Linked DNA regions of Homo sapiens: region 1 is linked to region 2. Evidence: promoter capture Hi-C in human tissues and cell types (Jung and others, 2019). All regions are on one chromosome and are shown on one strand. Each heading gives the region's core, a stretch centred on a gene start or on the middle of the fragment in contact. The rest is flanking DNA. Distances are from core to core; before and after follow the strand shown. Region 1 overlaps KLC1 (kinesin light chain 1). Region 2 holds the start of RCOR1 (REST corepressor 1).

Region 1 (5,724 bases), core at 424-2,923, 1.1 Mb before region 2:
CATCCTGGCTAACATGGTGAAACTCCGTCTCTACTAAAAATACAAAAAATTAGCCGGGCGCGGTGGCAGGCGCCTGTAGTCCCAGCTACTCGGGAGGCTGAGGCAGGAGAATGGCGTGAACCCGGGAGGCGGAGCTTGCAGTGAGCCCAGACAACGCCACTGCACTCCAGCCTGGGTGACAGCGAGACTCCGTCTCAAAAAAAACAAAAAGAAGCCCACCAAGAACTCAAATTCAAAAGAAAACAAACATAGAATACTAAAGCATTAAAATCCTAACAGAAAAATGTGCAAGGTAACAGGAAATTCACAGAAGGATACAAATGACTAAAAATACATAATCAAAGAAATACAAATTAAAACACAATGCATACTCTATCTCCACCAACGGAATAGAGCCCCCCACCTCCAGGGTGGCGCCTGTGCGGCAGAAGCATGGGCAGACACAGCCTTTCTGAGTGGCAGTTTGGCAGCAGGTACCAAGGACTATAAAATGTTTATACTCTAACCCGTCTTAGGAATTTATCCTAAAAAAAGAAATACATGGCTGGGCACAGTGGCTCACACCTGTAATCCTAGCACTTTGGGAGGCCAAGGAGGGTGGATCACCTGAGGTCAGGAGTTTTGAGACCAGCCTGGCCAACATGACAAAACACTGTCTCTACTAAAAAATACAAAAAATTAGCGGGGCTTGGTGGCAGGTGTCTGTAATCCCAGCTACTTGGGAGGCTGAGGCAGGAGAAATGGTTGAACTCCAGAGGCTGAGGTTGCAGTGAGCTGAGATCACTCCACTGCACTCTAGCCTGGGCGACAAGAGCAAAACTCCATCAAGACACAAGACAGGACAGGACAGGACAAGACAAGACAAGACAGAAAGACAGACAGACAGACAGAAAGAAAGAAAAGAAATCAATCAATCCATCCTGGCCAGGCGTGGTACCTCGCAGCTCACACCTATAATCCCAGCACTTTGGGACGTCAAGGTGGAGGATCATTTGGAGCCCAGGAGTTTGAGACCAGCCTGAGCAACATGGTGAGACTCCATCTCTACAACCAATCAATCAATCCAAAATCTTGAACAAACCTTATAAAGATCAGTAAAATATTAAAGGCAAAAAAAAAAAGCTTAAAATTATGTGTCCCTTAATACAAGAATGATGAAATAACAAGCTGAAAGGTAGAATACTGAATATGAATACATATGTAGCTACTATTTTTTTCCCAAACATCTACGCACGTGGGTCAACTCTCACACTATAATGCTAGGGAAAAACACAAGACTGACAGAGGCCATGGCATCCCCAGCACCCAGCAGTGATGTGTGTGCCCATGCACGCTGTGCACAACAAAAACCTAGTTATGCTTACTTAACTCATTTATATTAATAATATCCAGTGCTGTCCAGAAACTTCCATATGTTTTAATGGGCATATAAGTTTAAAAAAAAAAAAAAAAAAAAAAAAGCCTTGGCCAAGTGCAGTGGTTCACGCCTGTAATCCTAGCACTATGGGGTACCGAGCTGAGCAGATCACTTAAGCCCAGGAGTTCGAGACCAGCCTGGGCAACATGGCAAAACGCTGTCTCTATGAAATATATAAAATTTAGCTGGGTGTAGTGGTGCATGCCTGTGGTCCCAGCTACTCAGGAAGGTGAGGCAGGAAGATTGCTTGAGGCCAGGAGTCAGAGGTTGCAATGACCCATGATCGCATCACTGAGCAAGACCCTATCTCAAAAAAAAAATTTTTTTGCAATGAAATGTCTCAATCTAATTAAGAGCTAAATGCAAATATCTCTGACTAAGAAATTCCTGCAGTGAAATATGCAAACAATTGGCCAGGCACAGTGGCTCATGCCTGTAATCCCAGCACTTTGGGAGGCCGAGACAGAAGGATCACTTGAGGTCAGGAGTTTGAGACCAGCCTGGCCAACATGGTGAAACCCCGTCTCTACTAAAAATACAGAAGTTAGCCAGGCATGGTGGCGCATGCCTGTAATCCCAGCTACTCAGGAGGCTGAAGCAGGAGAATCACTTGAACTCAGGAAGCAGAGGTTGCGGTGAGCTGAGATTGCACCACTGCACTCCAGCCTGGGTGACAGAGCCAGACTCTGTCTCAAAAAAAAGAAAAAAGAAAATATGCAAACAATCTCAACATTCACCAACAGGAAAACAGTCAAAAAATGTCCAGAATGTCCACGAAACCCTGCTGCATAGTCATGGGGCAGACCAAGCTGCTGACAAACTACAGAGCCAAAGGGAACGGCCTCATTTTAAATAGTGTTGTTATAACAGGGGGCTTACTTTCTTATTTGTGTGTTTTTATTTTATCAACTTTCAAAACTTATTTTTAAAGAAATCACTTATGCGTGTGGGTAGTCATATCACCGCATTTCTCTTCAAGCGTCATTAGGCCCTGTACTCTCCTCTTCCTCCACGTCCTCCTCCTTGCTCAGGTTCCCCTCGCCCCACCCCGACAACCTCAATCCTGTCCCAACAGGACACCCTGCCTCCGGCTCCAGCCCCCAACTGCATCCTAGGCACTGAGCCAAAGGAACTCTTCTACCACACAACTGAGAGCCCACCACTCCCCCGGGGCGTCCTTCAACAGGGGTGAAAGGGTTCGGGGAGCACACAAGGGGCAAAGGGCAAGTTGAATCCCGGATTCCAAAAGGAGGCACAGCGCACCAGGCCTCAGAAGGCAGGAAGACACCGCCAGGCCAAGTGGGAAGGCTATTTAGACAAAAGAAGCCGCCTGCACAGGGTCTTGTGGAAAAGGTCAAAACAGCTTCGTTTGGCTGGCGTTAGGGGTACACTGTGGTCTATTCTAAACAAGCTGAACTGAGTGGTCACGGGCAGCATCTGTTCTTCTGATTCAGTGACACCCTTCCACAAAGCTTGCTAAATAGGCCGGGCGCGGTGGCTCACGCCTGTAATCCCAGCGTTTTGGGAGGCTGAGGCGGGCGGATCACGAGGTCAGGAGATCGAGACCATCCTGGTTAACACGATGAAACCCCGTCTTTACTAAAAATACAAAAAAATTAGCCAGGCATGGTGGCGGGTGCCTGAAGTCCCAGCTACTCGGGAGGCTGAGGCAGGAGAATGGCGTGAACCCGGGAGGCGGAGCTTGCAGTGAACCGAGATCACACCCCGGCACTCCAGCCTGGGTGACAGAACGAGACTCCGTCTCAAAAAAAAAAAAAAGCTTGCTAAATATTTTTAATTTAACCCCTGTTTAAAGAGAAGTGGATATGGTTGAAAAATAGTTTATACAGATACATAAAAATATATTTTAAGGGGCAAGATGGTTAAAAACATTGTCTCTAGGTAAAATTCAGTAGGTAAACAAAAGTGACTAGCCTGTACACCAAGGCCAGGATGTTGAGCATGGTGGCCACGTCCGGGTGGTCGTGTCCTGAAGTCTTCTCCAGGTCCTCCAGGGCCTGCTTGCAGAGGGGCACAGCTACCTCGTAGCGCCCCTGCGAGGCGTACTGGATCACCAGGTTGTGGAGCGTCCGCAGCCGCGCGGGGATCTCGTAGCCGCCCTGCTGGGCAGCCGCGGCTGCACTGCTGTGCTGCTGCTGGACTGCACCGAGAAAGTTCACTTCAGATGGGTTTTTAAAGACAATTATCCAGATGAGTCAGTTTCTTTAAAATTATCTTTACTAACTTTGGTTCAAGTTAGTACTTGGCCCCCAGTGCTATTTAAATCTTTTCCTAGTACTGTCTGGGCAGGCAGGGTAAGAGTAGTGACTACAGTGTCAGGGATGGCAACATGGCCACTCAGTGCCATGAGACTCCTCTTGGCGCCATGAAACAAGCAGGATAAGTAATTCTGACCTCTTCACCCTGTAAGAATCTGCAGACCACGCCTGAACTGCACGTGCATGCCGCTGTATCCTAGGGTCTGCTCTAGCATATTCCCGTATCACAACACAGATTATTTTGGAAAACCAAAGGCAACCCCGCTCTGGTGGTGCTTCCTCCAGGCAGGCCGCATGCACTAAGGCTGCCACTGATTGCTATGACCGTGTTCTAGGAGGAACACCTCTCTTCTGCACTCGGTAACATGCCTGCATCACCCATCACTCACTTCCTTGCCCTGGGTCGTCTTCATCATTGGGGAAAAGGTCATCCAGAGGCTCTTTGGTAGAATCAGTGTCTTTGTCCTCCTATAAAACAGACCCAGGACAACACTTCATCTTACACGTGCTATACACATCCTGTCCTGAAAATTTTTAATATTAAATACATTTTAACTAAGAATCTTAGAAAAGATGATCAGTTTTTAACATCAAATGTAGGATCGCCGACAATCTGGCTTATCCATCAGTTGAACAGGAGTAATGAAAAGCTTTTTAGACTAGAATACAAATACTTGAGTGCAGACCACAGTTTGACGAAATGGGCCATGGCTGCATTTCATGCCTCAGATCCTTCTCCCGCGCTTTGAGGGAGGTCTAGGAGAGCAGGGAAAACCCTGACTCAAAATAAAATCTTATTTGGGAACCAAATATGTAGCAACAGGTGAAAATGGTGCATCTCTGATCCCCAGAGAAGTGGAGGGGCTAGATTCCTCACCACCACAATCGGCTCTGGGGCAGGATCCCTGGGAGCAGTTTGAAACCTCCCAGCTTTAAAGGCCTGTGACCCATGTTTCCCTACATTTTGCTGATTAGTCAAAGAAATAAAATCAGAAACTACATAATGGAAAAGACAGGTAACAGCCTGACCAGTAAGAAATTAGCTTTGTCATGAGGCAGATGAACACTGTTTGGCTCCGGAAGGGAAAATGTGATAAAGACACATTGCTTTTAGAATATTCCTGTCTGGGATGCATAATCCAGGCATTAGACGAACCCCAACTGAGGAATGATGGACAAAATAACTGGCCTGCATTCTTCAAAAACACCAATGTCATGAAAGACAACCAGAGACAGAGACCCCATTCCACGTGAAAGGCTACTCAACAGATGTGACGGCCACATGCAGGATGTACCCCTGAACTGGACCCTGGGACACAGTGAAACAATGCCATGAAGGATGCTGTTGGCAGTTAACAAAAGGAGAGTATGAGCTGCAGAGGAGAGGACATACTGGGTCTGTGTGCAATTTCCTGAGTGCCCTTGGCCCTGGACTGCCACAGGAGAACCCCTCACCCTAGGGAAAGACGCCCAGCAGCAGTAAGCAGCCGTGGCACATGCTATGCCACTATGTGAACAGGTTTCAGAAGAAACAGGCACTCGTAAGTACTCTGGAAAGGGTAAGGAGAGCCAGCTCACTGGATGTTTTCTCCAAGTTTAACACTTTTTCAAAATAATAAATTTTAAAAGTCTCCGATCCTACGAAACCAGTTTTCTTCTTCTCAACATCCTCCAATGTCCCAGGTCAATCACTGCTGGCATCGACATCTGCAAAGTACTTGCATTTCCATAGCACTCTAGAGCAAGCATCTTTTATTTATTTATTTATTTATTTATTTATTGCTTGTTTTTCTGAGACAGGGTCTCCCTCTGCCACCCAAGCTGGAGTACAGCGGCATGATCTTGGCTCACTGCAACCTCCAACTCCCAGGTTCAAACAATTCCATGCCTCAGCCTCCCAAGTAGCTGGGACCACAGGTGCACTCTACCACACCCAGCTAATTTTTTTGTATTTTTTAATAGAGAAGGGGTTTTGCTATGTTGGCCAGGCTGGTCTTGAACTCCTGGCCTCAGGTAATCCACCCGCTT
Region 2 (6,108 bases), core at 1-2,500:
AGGCAGGCGCCCTCTGGAAAACACACTTCTTTTATTGACTGGTTTTGGGGGGTCGTTCTTCTACTCGCCTTCTGGATGGGAGGGCAGTCAGGAGCCAGCAAGAGCCCAGAGGCTGAGAGGAGGAGCAAAGGCGTGGGGAGCAGCCTTTGGGAAGGGTTCCGAGAAAGGGGTCTCTGGGGACCTCCTAAGTCCGGGGCGCTCGCAGGACACTAACTCTCCGGCACTGCCACCCTTACCCCTGGCCGAGGCGCAGCTCACCTGGACGCAGGGACCCCCAGCGCCCCCAGGCCAGGTGTGGCCACCTCCGACGCCACCCGCAGTCCTCGGAGGCGCAAGGGGGCAGCGGCGCCGGCCCTGCTGGGGGCGACCTGGCCTCCCCCGGGTGCAGAGGCACGTTTGCAGAACACTCGTGTGCGTGTGCGCCTCCTCGTCCTCGCCCTGCTGTTCTCCCCACGGACGGCAGGGCGAACGCACAAAAAGAAAGTTGTCGGCGGGCTCCCGCCCCCTCGGGCTCGCCGGGGACCCGGGGCTCCCGCTCATCCCCGCCGCCGGCCGGCCGGGGCCGCTACTCACCGGGGTCGAAGTCGGGCACCACCGCCTGGTACTGGGGTCCGACCCTCATGCCACCGCCACCTGCGGGGGAAGCAGAATACGGCGGTCAGCGCGGCGCGGGGCGCGGGGCCCGGGGCCGCGGGGGCGGCTGCCACCTACCGTGCTCCTCGTCGCTGGACGAGCCCGAGCTGCCTTCCTCCCAGGAGTTGCTGCTGCTGTTGCCATTGGGCGCCGCCGCCGCCAAACTTTTATTCTGGCCATTATTGGGGGCGGCGGCGGCTGAGGCGGCGGCGGCCGAGGCTGAGGAGGCGGCGGCGCCCGAGGCGGCAGTGGCGGCTGGCGAGGCGCAGGCGGCCGAGGCGGCGGCGGAGGCGGCGGCGGCGGAGGCGGAGGCGGCCGCGTTGTTCCTCCCTCTCCGCTTCCCTGAGACCTCGGGGCCCTTCTCCACCATGGCCGGCATCGGCGGGGGCCGGGGCCGTGCGAAAGTGGCGGGGACCCGCGGCTCCTGAGGAGGGGGCGCCGAGACGGGGGAGGGGGCGCGGGGCCGGCGCGGGGCCGGGCGGGCGCGGCGGGAGCCCACGGGCGCGAGTCCGAGTCGGGGGAGGCCCAAACGGGCAGAGCGCGGAGCCGCTTCAAGCCCCCAGCGACGAGCCGAGCGCAACTTTCGCTCTCATCGCCGCCCTCACTTCACTGGCACCAACTACTCCGGGAGCAGCGAGCGGAGAGGGGAGGAGGCAGGGGCGGGGCCTGCAGGGGCGCCGGGGGAGGGGGGCGCGCAGCCCAACTGACGCGAGATGGCTCCGCCCCCCCTCGCGCTCCCATTGGCTCTGGTGGGATTTGGACAGCCAGCGGCAGCGGGGTTGGCTCCGCGCGCCCGTCCGTCCGGGGCGGCGGGGCGGGGGAGCGGGGAGGGGCGGCTCCGGGCTTCCGTTGGCGAGGTTCGGTTGACGCGTATCGCCCGCCGTACGTGGTTTGAGGTTTGCCATCTCCCTACGCCCCATGATCCATCTCTCCAGGCAGCGGCGAGGAGTTCGCGGCCCTCCCCGCCCCCTACCCTTGGCCGCGGCCCCTGCCCTTGCTGCCCGCGCACGCCTCCCGCAGCCTCTGGCCCCCCATCTGAAGGACCCCGCTGAGAGTCCCGTCGACTTCTCAAAGTAAAATGTGTCTGGCGCTGGGAAGCCGCGGAGCGCCCGGCCGGGACTACTTTCCGCTGCGCGGAGGAGTACGGGCGCGCTAAGACTCCATACAAAGAGGAAACTAATTGGGGGAAACTCGCTGCGCCCCCGCCTTTCCCAGGGGACGCGGGGCTGGCGGGGGCGGGGGCCGCGGCGCGGGGGACGGGCTTCCCAGGCGGCCGCCTCCCCTGGCGCGAGCTGCGTGGGGACTCGGGTCTGCGGTGCTGCCCGCTAATTGGGTGGGGGAGGCCGGGGCCCCCGGGGTGGCTTGGGTGCGGGGTGCGCCGCGGCTTCAGAGGCCCAAGGGAGGGTCCCCGTGGGTCCCCGGGGCACAGAGTCCCGGCGTGGGGACGCCCAAGCCGCCTGGGTGGCCGCTGAAAGATGAATGAAGGGGCCCAGTCGTCCTGGGGCGGGGGTCCAGGAAGGGTAAAGAGGAAGAAGCTATTTTCATCCCAAGCTCTCGGCACGGGAGGAGGGTCAACTTCTTTCGGGGCGAGGGCAGCCACTTTTCCGGACCTGCCGCCCGCCCCGCCTCCCTACTCCCCCCGGCACCCCCACGAGGGAGAACACGGGGTGCGGGCGGGTGGGGTAGGCTGAGGCTAGCCTGAGAGCCGCTGCCTTGGAGAGGGACCACCGGGCAGCCGTACAGCTGTTAGGAGGCTGAGGAGTGTAACTGCCTTGGAGGTCCCGGTGCCCTACCCCCAGCCAACCCTGAAACTACGCGCCCTTCGTAATTAGACCAGTGGAGGTCTATACGGAAAATCTTTTTAAAGCAGGGAAGGCTATTTTTCTTTTAAGTTACTTCAAACCTGAGCTTAATTTGGGGACTAGCTCTGGATATAAATAGCTACAGGGAGAATTTGGGAGTTTTATGGTTTTAAAGCCTGAGTAAATAAGCAGGGTTTTGTCTTGAACATTTTCTGCAGCATGAACCATTATTAACTTTATTGAAGAGACCACGTTCACTTCTGCCTAAATGGCCTTTAAGAAACAGGGCTGGGAGCCCTCCTGGTATAGAAGCCCTTCCCCCACCAAGTTCAGGTGGGGGACTTAGACTTTTAGACTCTCCTCAAAAGTACGTCCCTCTCCTTGGAGTGCCCTGGATGCTGCAGGTGTGTGCCCCAATACACCCTGTCAGCTGGCCTGGGCAGGGTACAGAACCGGGGTGGCATTCCCGGGGCTGGGCCACCGGCTAAGGCCTCTGACTCATCCGGAGGTGAGCCCTGTGTGAGGAATGAGGTCCAGAACACGCTGCCCCGCTCGCTTGGTGTCTACAAAGTTCTGCCACGAGACTAGAAGGATCAACCTACAAGGGCACAAAGGTGATACTGGGTCATTAAGGCAATAGGGATAGCAGAGCACACAAGGCCGCCCTCTCCACCCACCAGCCCCCAAGGCTGAGGCCAGGCTGGGCTACCAGTAGGGGCGCAGCAGTGGACTTGACAAGCATTCTTTTTTTTTTTTTTCCAACGAATATTAACACTTAATATGTGCCGGGCCCTGTTCTATTTTGTCTGACCCTAATGCTACACCGATACTGTATTGGCCTGAAGCTCTCAGATTTACCAACCGTAAAATACAGGAAACAGTACCTACCTCCTGGCCTGATGGACTGTAATAGAGTCCATCCTTCCAGCATAGGGAACCCCAACGTTAAGGACACTCGCCTTCCCATCGCTTGGGGAGAGGGCTCCACACACAGCCCTGGGATTGGGAATTTGTGATCCCACACTTCTAACGCATCCACAAAGCCGGCAGCCCTATCATGTTTTTCGGTGAGACTCCCACTCTGAAAGTGAGACCTCATGCCTGCTCCCCTCTCCTTACACCTCCCACAGCCCCTTCTGCCTGGGCTCCTAGCCCGTGGCCTTACCTCATTCTTCAGAGAAAAACGAAAGCCTTCAGGATCTTTCTCCTCTCCCAGTACCCAAACAGACAAACTTCCCTGTCGGGTACTCACGTCCTCCTCAGGCCTAGGACCCCATCCCGCTGCCCTCCCCTCGAGGCTTTTCTGTGCCATCAGCCTCACTCTGGACCGACTCCTGCCCCCAAACCCTCTCCTGCCTCTGGCCATTTCTCCCTCCCTTCAGACATTTCTGTAGACTTCCCTACACTCACCTCCTCCACCCCTTCCCGTCCCAGCCTCTCATCACCCCATCCAGCAGGGCTGTGTCCCCACCCCTTAACTGCTGCTAAGGTAACCTACAACCTCTCCGCTGCCCAATCCGGGGGTCACTTCTTGGTCTCGCTGAGCTTCTCAGCAGCAGCTGAGTCGACCACTCCTCCTCCTGGAAACCCTCACTTATCTGGACCTGGGGATTCCAGTTCACCTGGTCCTGCTACCTCACAGGTCACTCCCCATCAGTCTCCTCTGCAGCTTTCAACCTGTCATCGTTGGGATTCCTCCTTGCCTTTTTCCTTTCATTAATTTTTTTTTTATCCAGAGTCTCACTCTGTCGCCCAGGCTGGAGTCCAGTGGCACGATCTGGGCTCACTGCAACCTCTGCCTCAGCCTCCCGAGTAGCTAAGATTACAGGCACCCGCCACTACACCCGGCTAATTTTTGTATTTTTAGTAGAGACGGGGTTTCACCATATTGGCCAGGCTGGTCTTGAACTCCTGGCCTCGTGATCCGCCCGCCTCGGACTTCCAAAGTGCTGGGATTACAGGCTTGAGCCATGGCGCCCGGTGACATAGCGAGATCCCGTCTGTATAAAACAAAAACAAAAAAAAAAACTGTGACCCTATGACCATCTCGTCCCCCCACCCTAAAAAAAAACAAAAACTATGACCATGACCATCTCATACCCCACCCTTATAGATGAGAAAGCTGAGGCACCCAGAAGTGAAATATCTTCCTAGGATCAGGCATGATATGAGGGGAGGAGCCGGGGCACAGCTAAGCCAGGAGCTATGGAGCCTCTTAACCAAGGCCAGAGTTGCCCCAGGGATTCTGGGACGGCCAGGGGCAAGGGTGTCTGCAACATGCTTGGTCTGATGCTAAACATACAGTGTTTATAATTTTGTATTCATTGTATTTTCCCAGAAAAAGGGAAGGGAAAAGAGTCAGCATGTGTTATAAAATGATTAGAAAATGGGAAAGGAAGTACCTGGTACAGCAAAATCAACCATCAAATGAACATACCCCAGTGATGGAGTCATCAAAGCCCAAAGGGGCTCCGTCTCCTTCAGTTCAGGAATGAAGGGAAGGGATCAGGAAAAGGAGAGACGGGTACAGGCTTTCCTACCCCAGTGTTTATAGTTCTTCCTGCTGCTAATTATTATTATTACTATATTTGGGCTTGTTAGAAAATTCTGTTTGGCAAGGAATTCCTTTCCCAAGAATGGAGCCAGGCAGAGGGCAGGGTATGGGCCAGGGCTGGGAAGTGTCAGGAAAACACCCTAAAGCCATTCCTGGGAGGTTTCAAGCCCCCAAAGGACTATTGGAAAACTGAGACTTCAGGCTGGAATTTTAGCCATCCTAAGAGTTCTGAACCTGGAATCCATGGATAGAATTCTGGAGACCATGAACCAGAGCTGGTAAATACATCTTTATTTAAATTAACCTTTAACACCAAGTGCGGTGGCACTCACTTATAATCCCAGGTACTTTGAGGCCTCCAGCAAGACCCCTGTCTCAAAAAAAAAATCAACCTTTAACCAAAATCCAGCATTTTCTTCACTTATGAATGTAGGTGATATTCCATCTCAACACATTGCAGTCACTGGAAATATCTCAAAATAGCATTTATTTATTTATTTTATTTTTATTTTATTTTTTGAGACAGAGTCTTGTTCTGTCGCCCAGGCTGGAGTGCAGTGGCATGATCTCAGCTCAGTGCAACCTCCCGGGTTCCAACTATTTTCCTCCCTCAGGCTCTGAGTAGCTGGGATCACAGGCACCCACCACCACGCCCAGCTAATTTTTGTGTTTTTAGTAGAGATGGGGTTTCACCATGTTGGCCAGACTGGTGTCGAACTCCTGACGTCGTGATCCGCCCACCTTGGCCTCCCAAAGTGCTGGGATTACAGGCATGAGCCACCGCGCCCAGCCTCAAAATAGCACGTATACTCGTCTCCAAAATCACAGAAGTTATTAGACCCACTGCTAGAACTTGTTACTTAATATGTTAATAACTAAGCAAGTAAATCGTAGACCTAATTGTAAGACCTAATTGTAAAACTATAAAACTGTCAGATGAAAACCTAAATCTCTGTGACCATGAGGTAGGCAAAGTCTTCTTGATTACGATGCCAAAAGGATAAGGAACAAAAGAGAAAAATTGGAATTCATAAAAATTAAAACTTGTGTGGGTGAGCATGGTGGCTTACGCCTGTAATCCCAGCACTTTGGGAGGCTGAAGCGGATGGATCACCTGAG

Evidence for each region. The method cuts DNA at HindIII sites, captures the fragments that hold promoters and counts their contacts. A contact is called where the count stands out against the background at its distance.
Region 1: a fragment that was not itself captured here is called in contact with the fragment with the promoter of RCOR1 in region 2 in 1 of the 25 tissues and cell types used here (aorta).

Annotation. Positions count from the first base shown.
Region 1 is chr14:103,660,556-103,666,279 of GRCh38, reverse strand. KLC1 (kinesin light chain 1) reads right to left here. Exons shown (of 17, transcript NM_001394837.1): 4 at 4,086-4,164; 5 at 3,353-3,578. Among named protein-coding and RNA genes, the nearest start is that of KLC1, 34 kb to the right of the region's middle. The HindIII fragment of the contact is 4,198 bases long and covers 1-3,772 here.
Region 2 is chr14:102,587,791-102,593,898 of GRCh38, reverse strand. It overlaps RCOR1 (REST corepressor 1), which reads right to left and starts at 1,250. Exons shown (of 12, transcript NM_015156.4): 1 at 712-1,250; 2 at 574-633. The coding sequence starts at 1,012. RefSeq lists silencers at 274-883, 944-2,253 and enhancers at 1,832-2,647, 2,929-2,978. The HindIII fragment of the contact is 11,930 bases long and covers 1-6,108 here.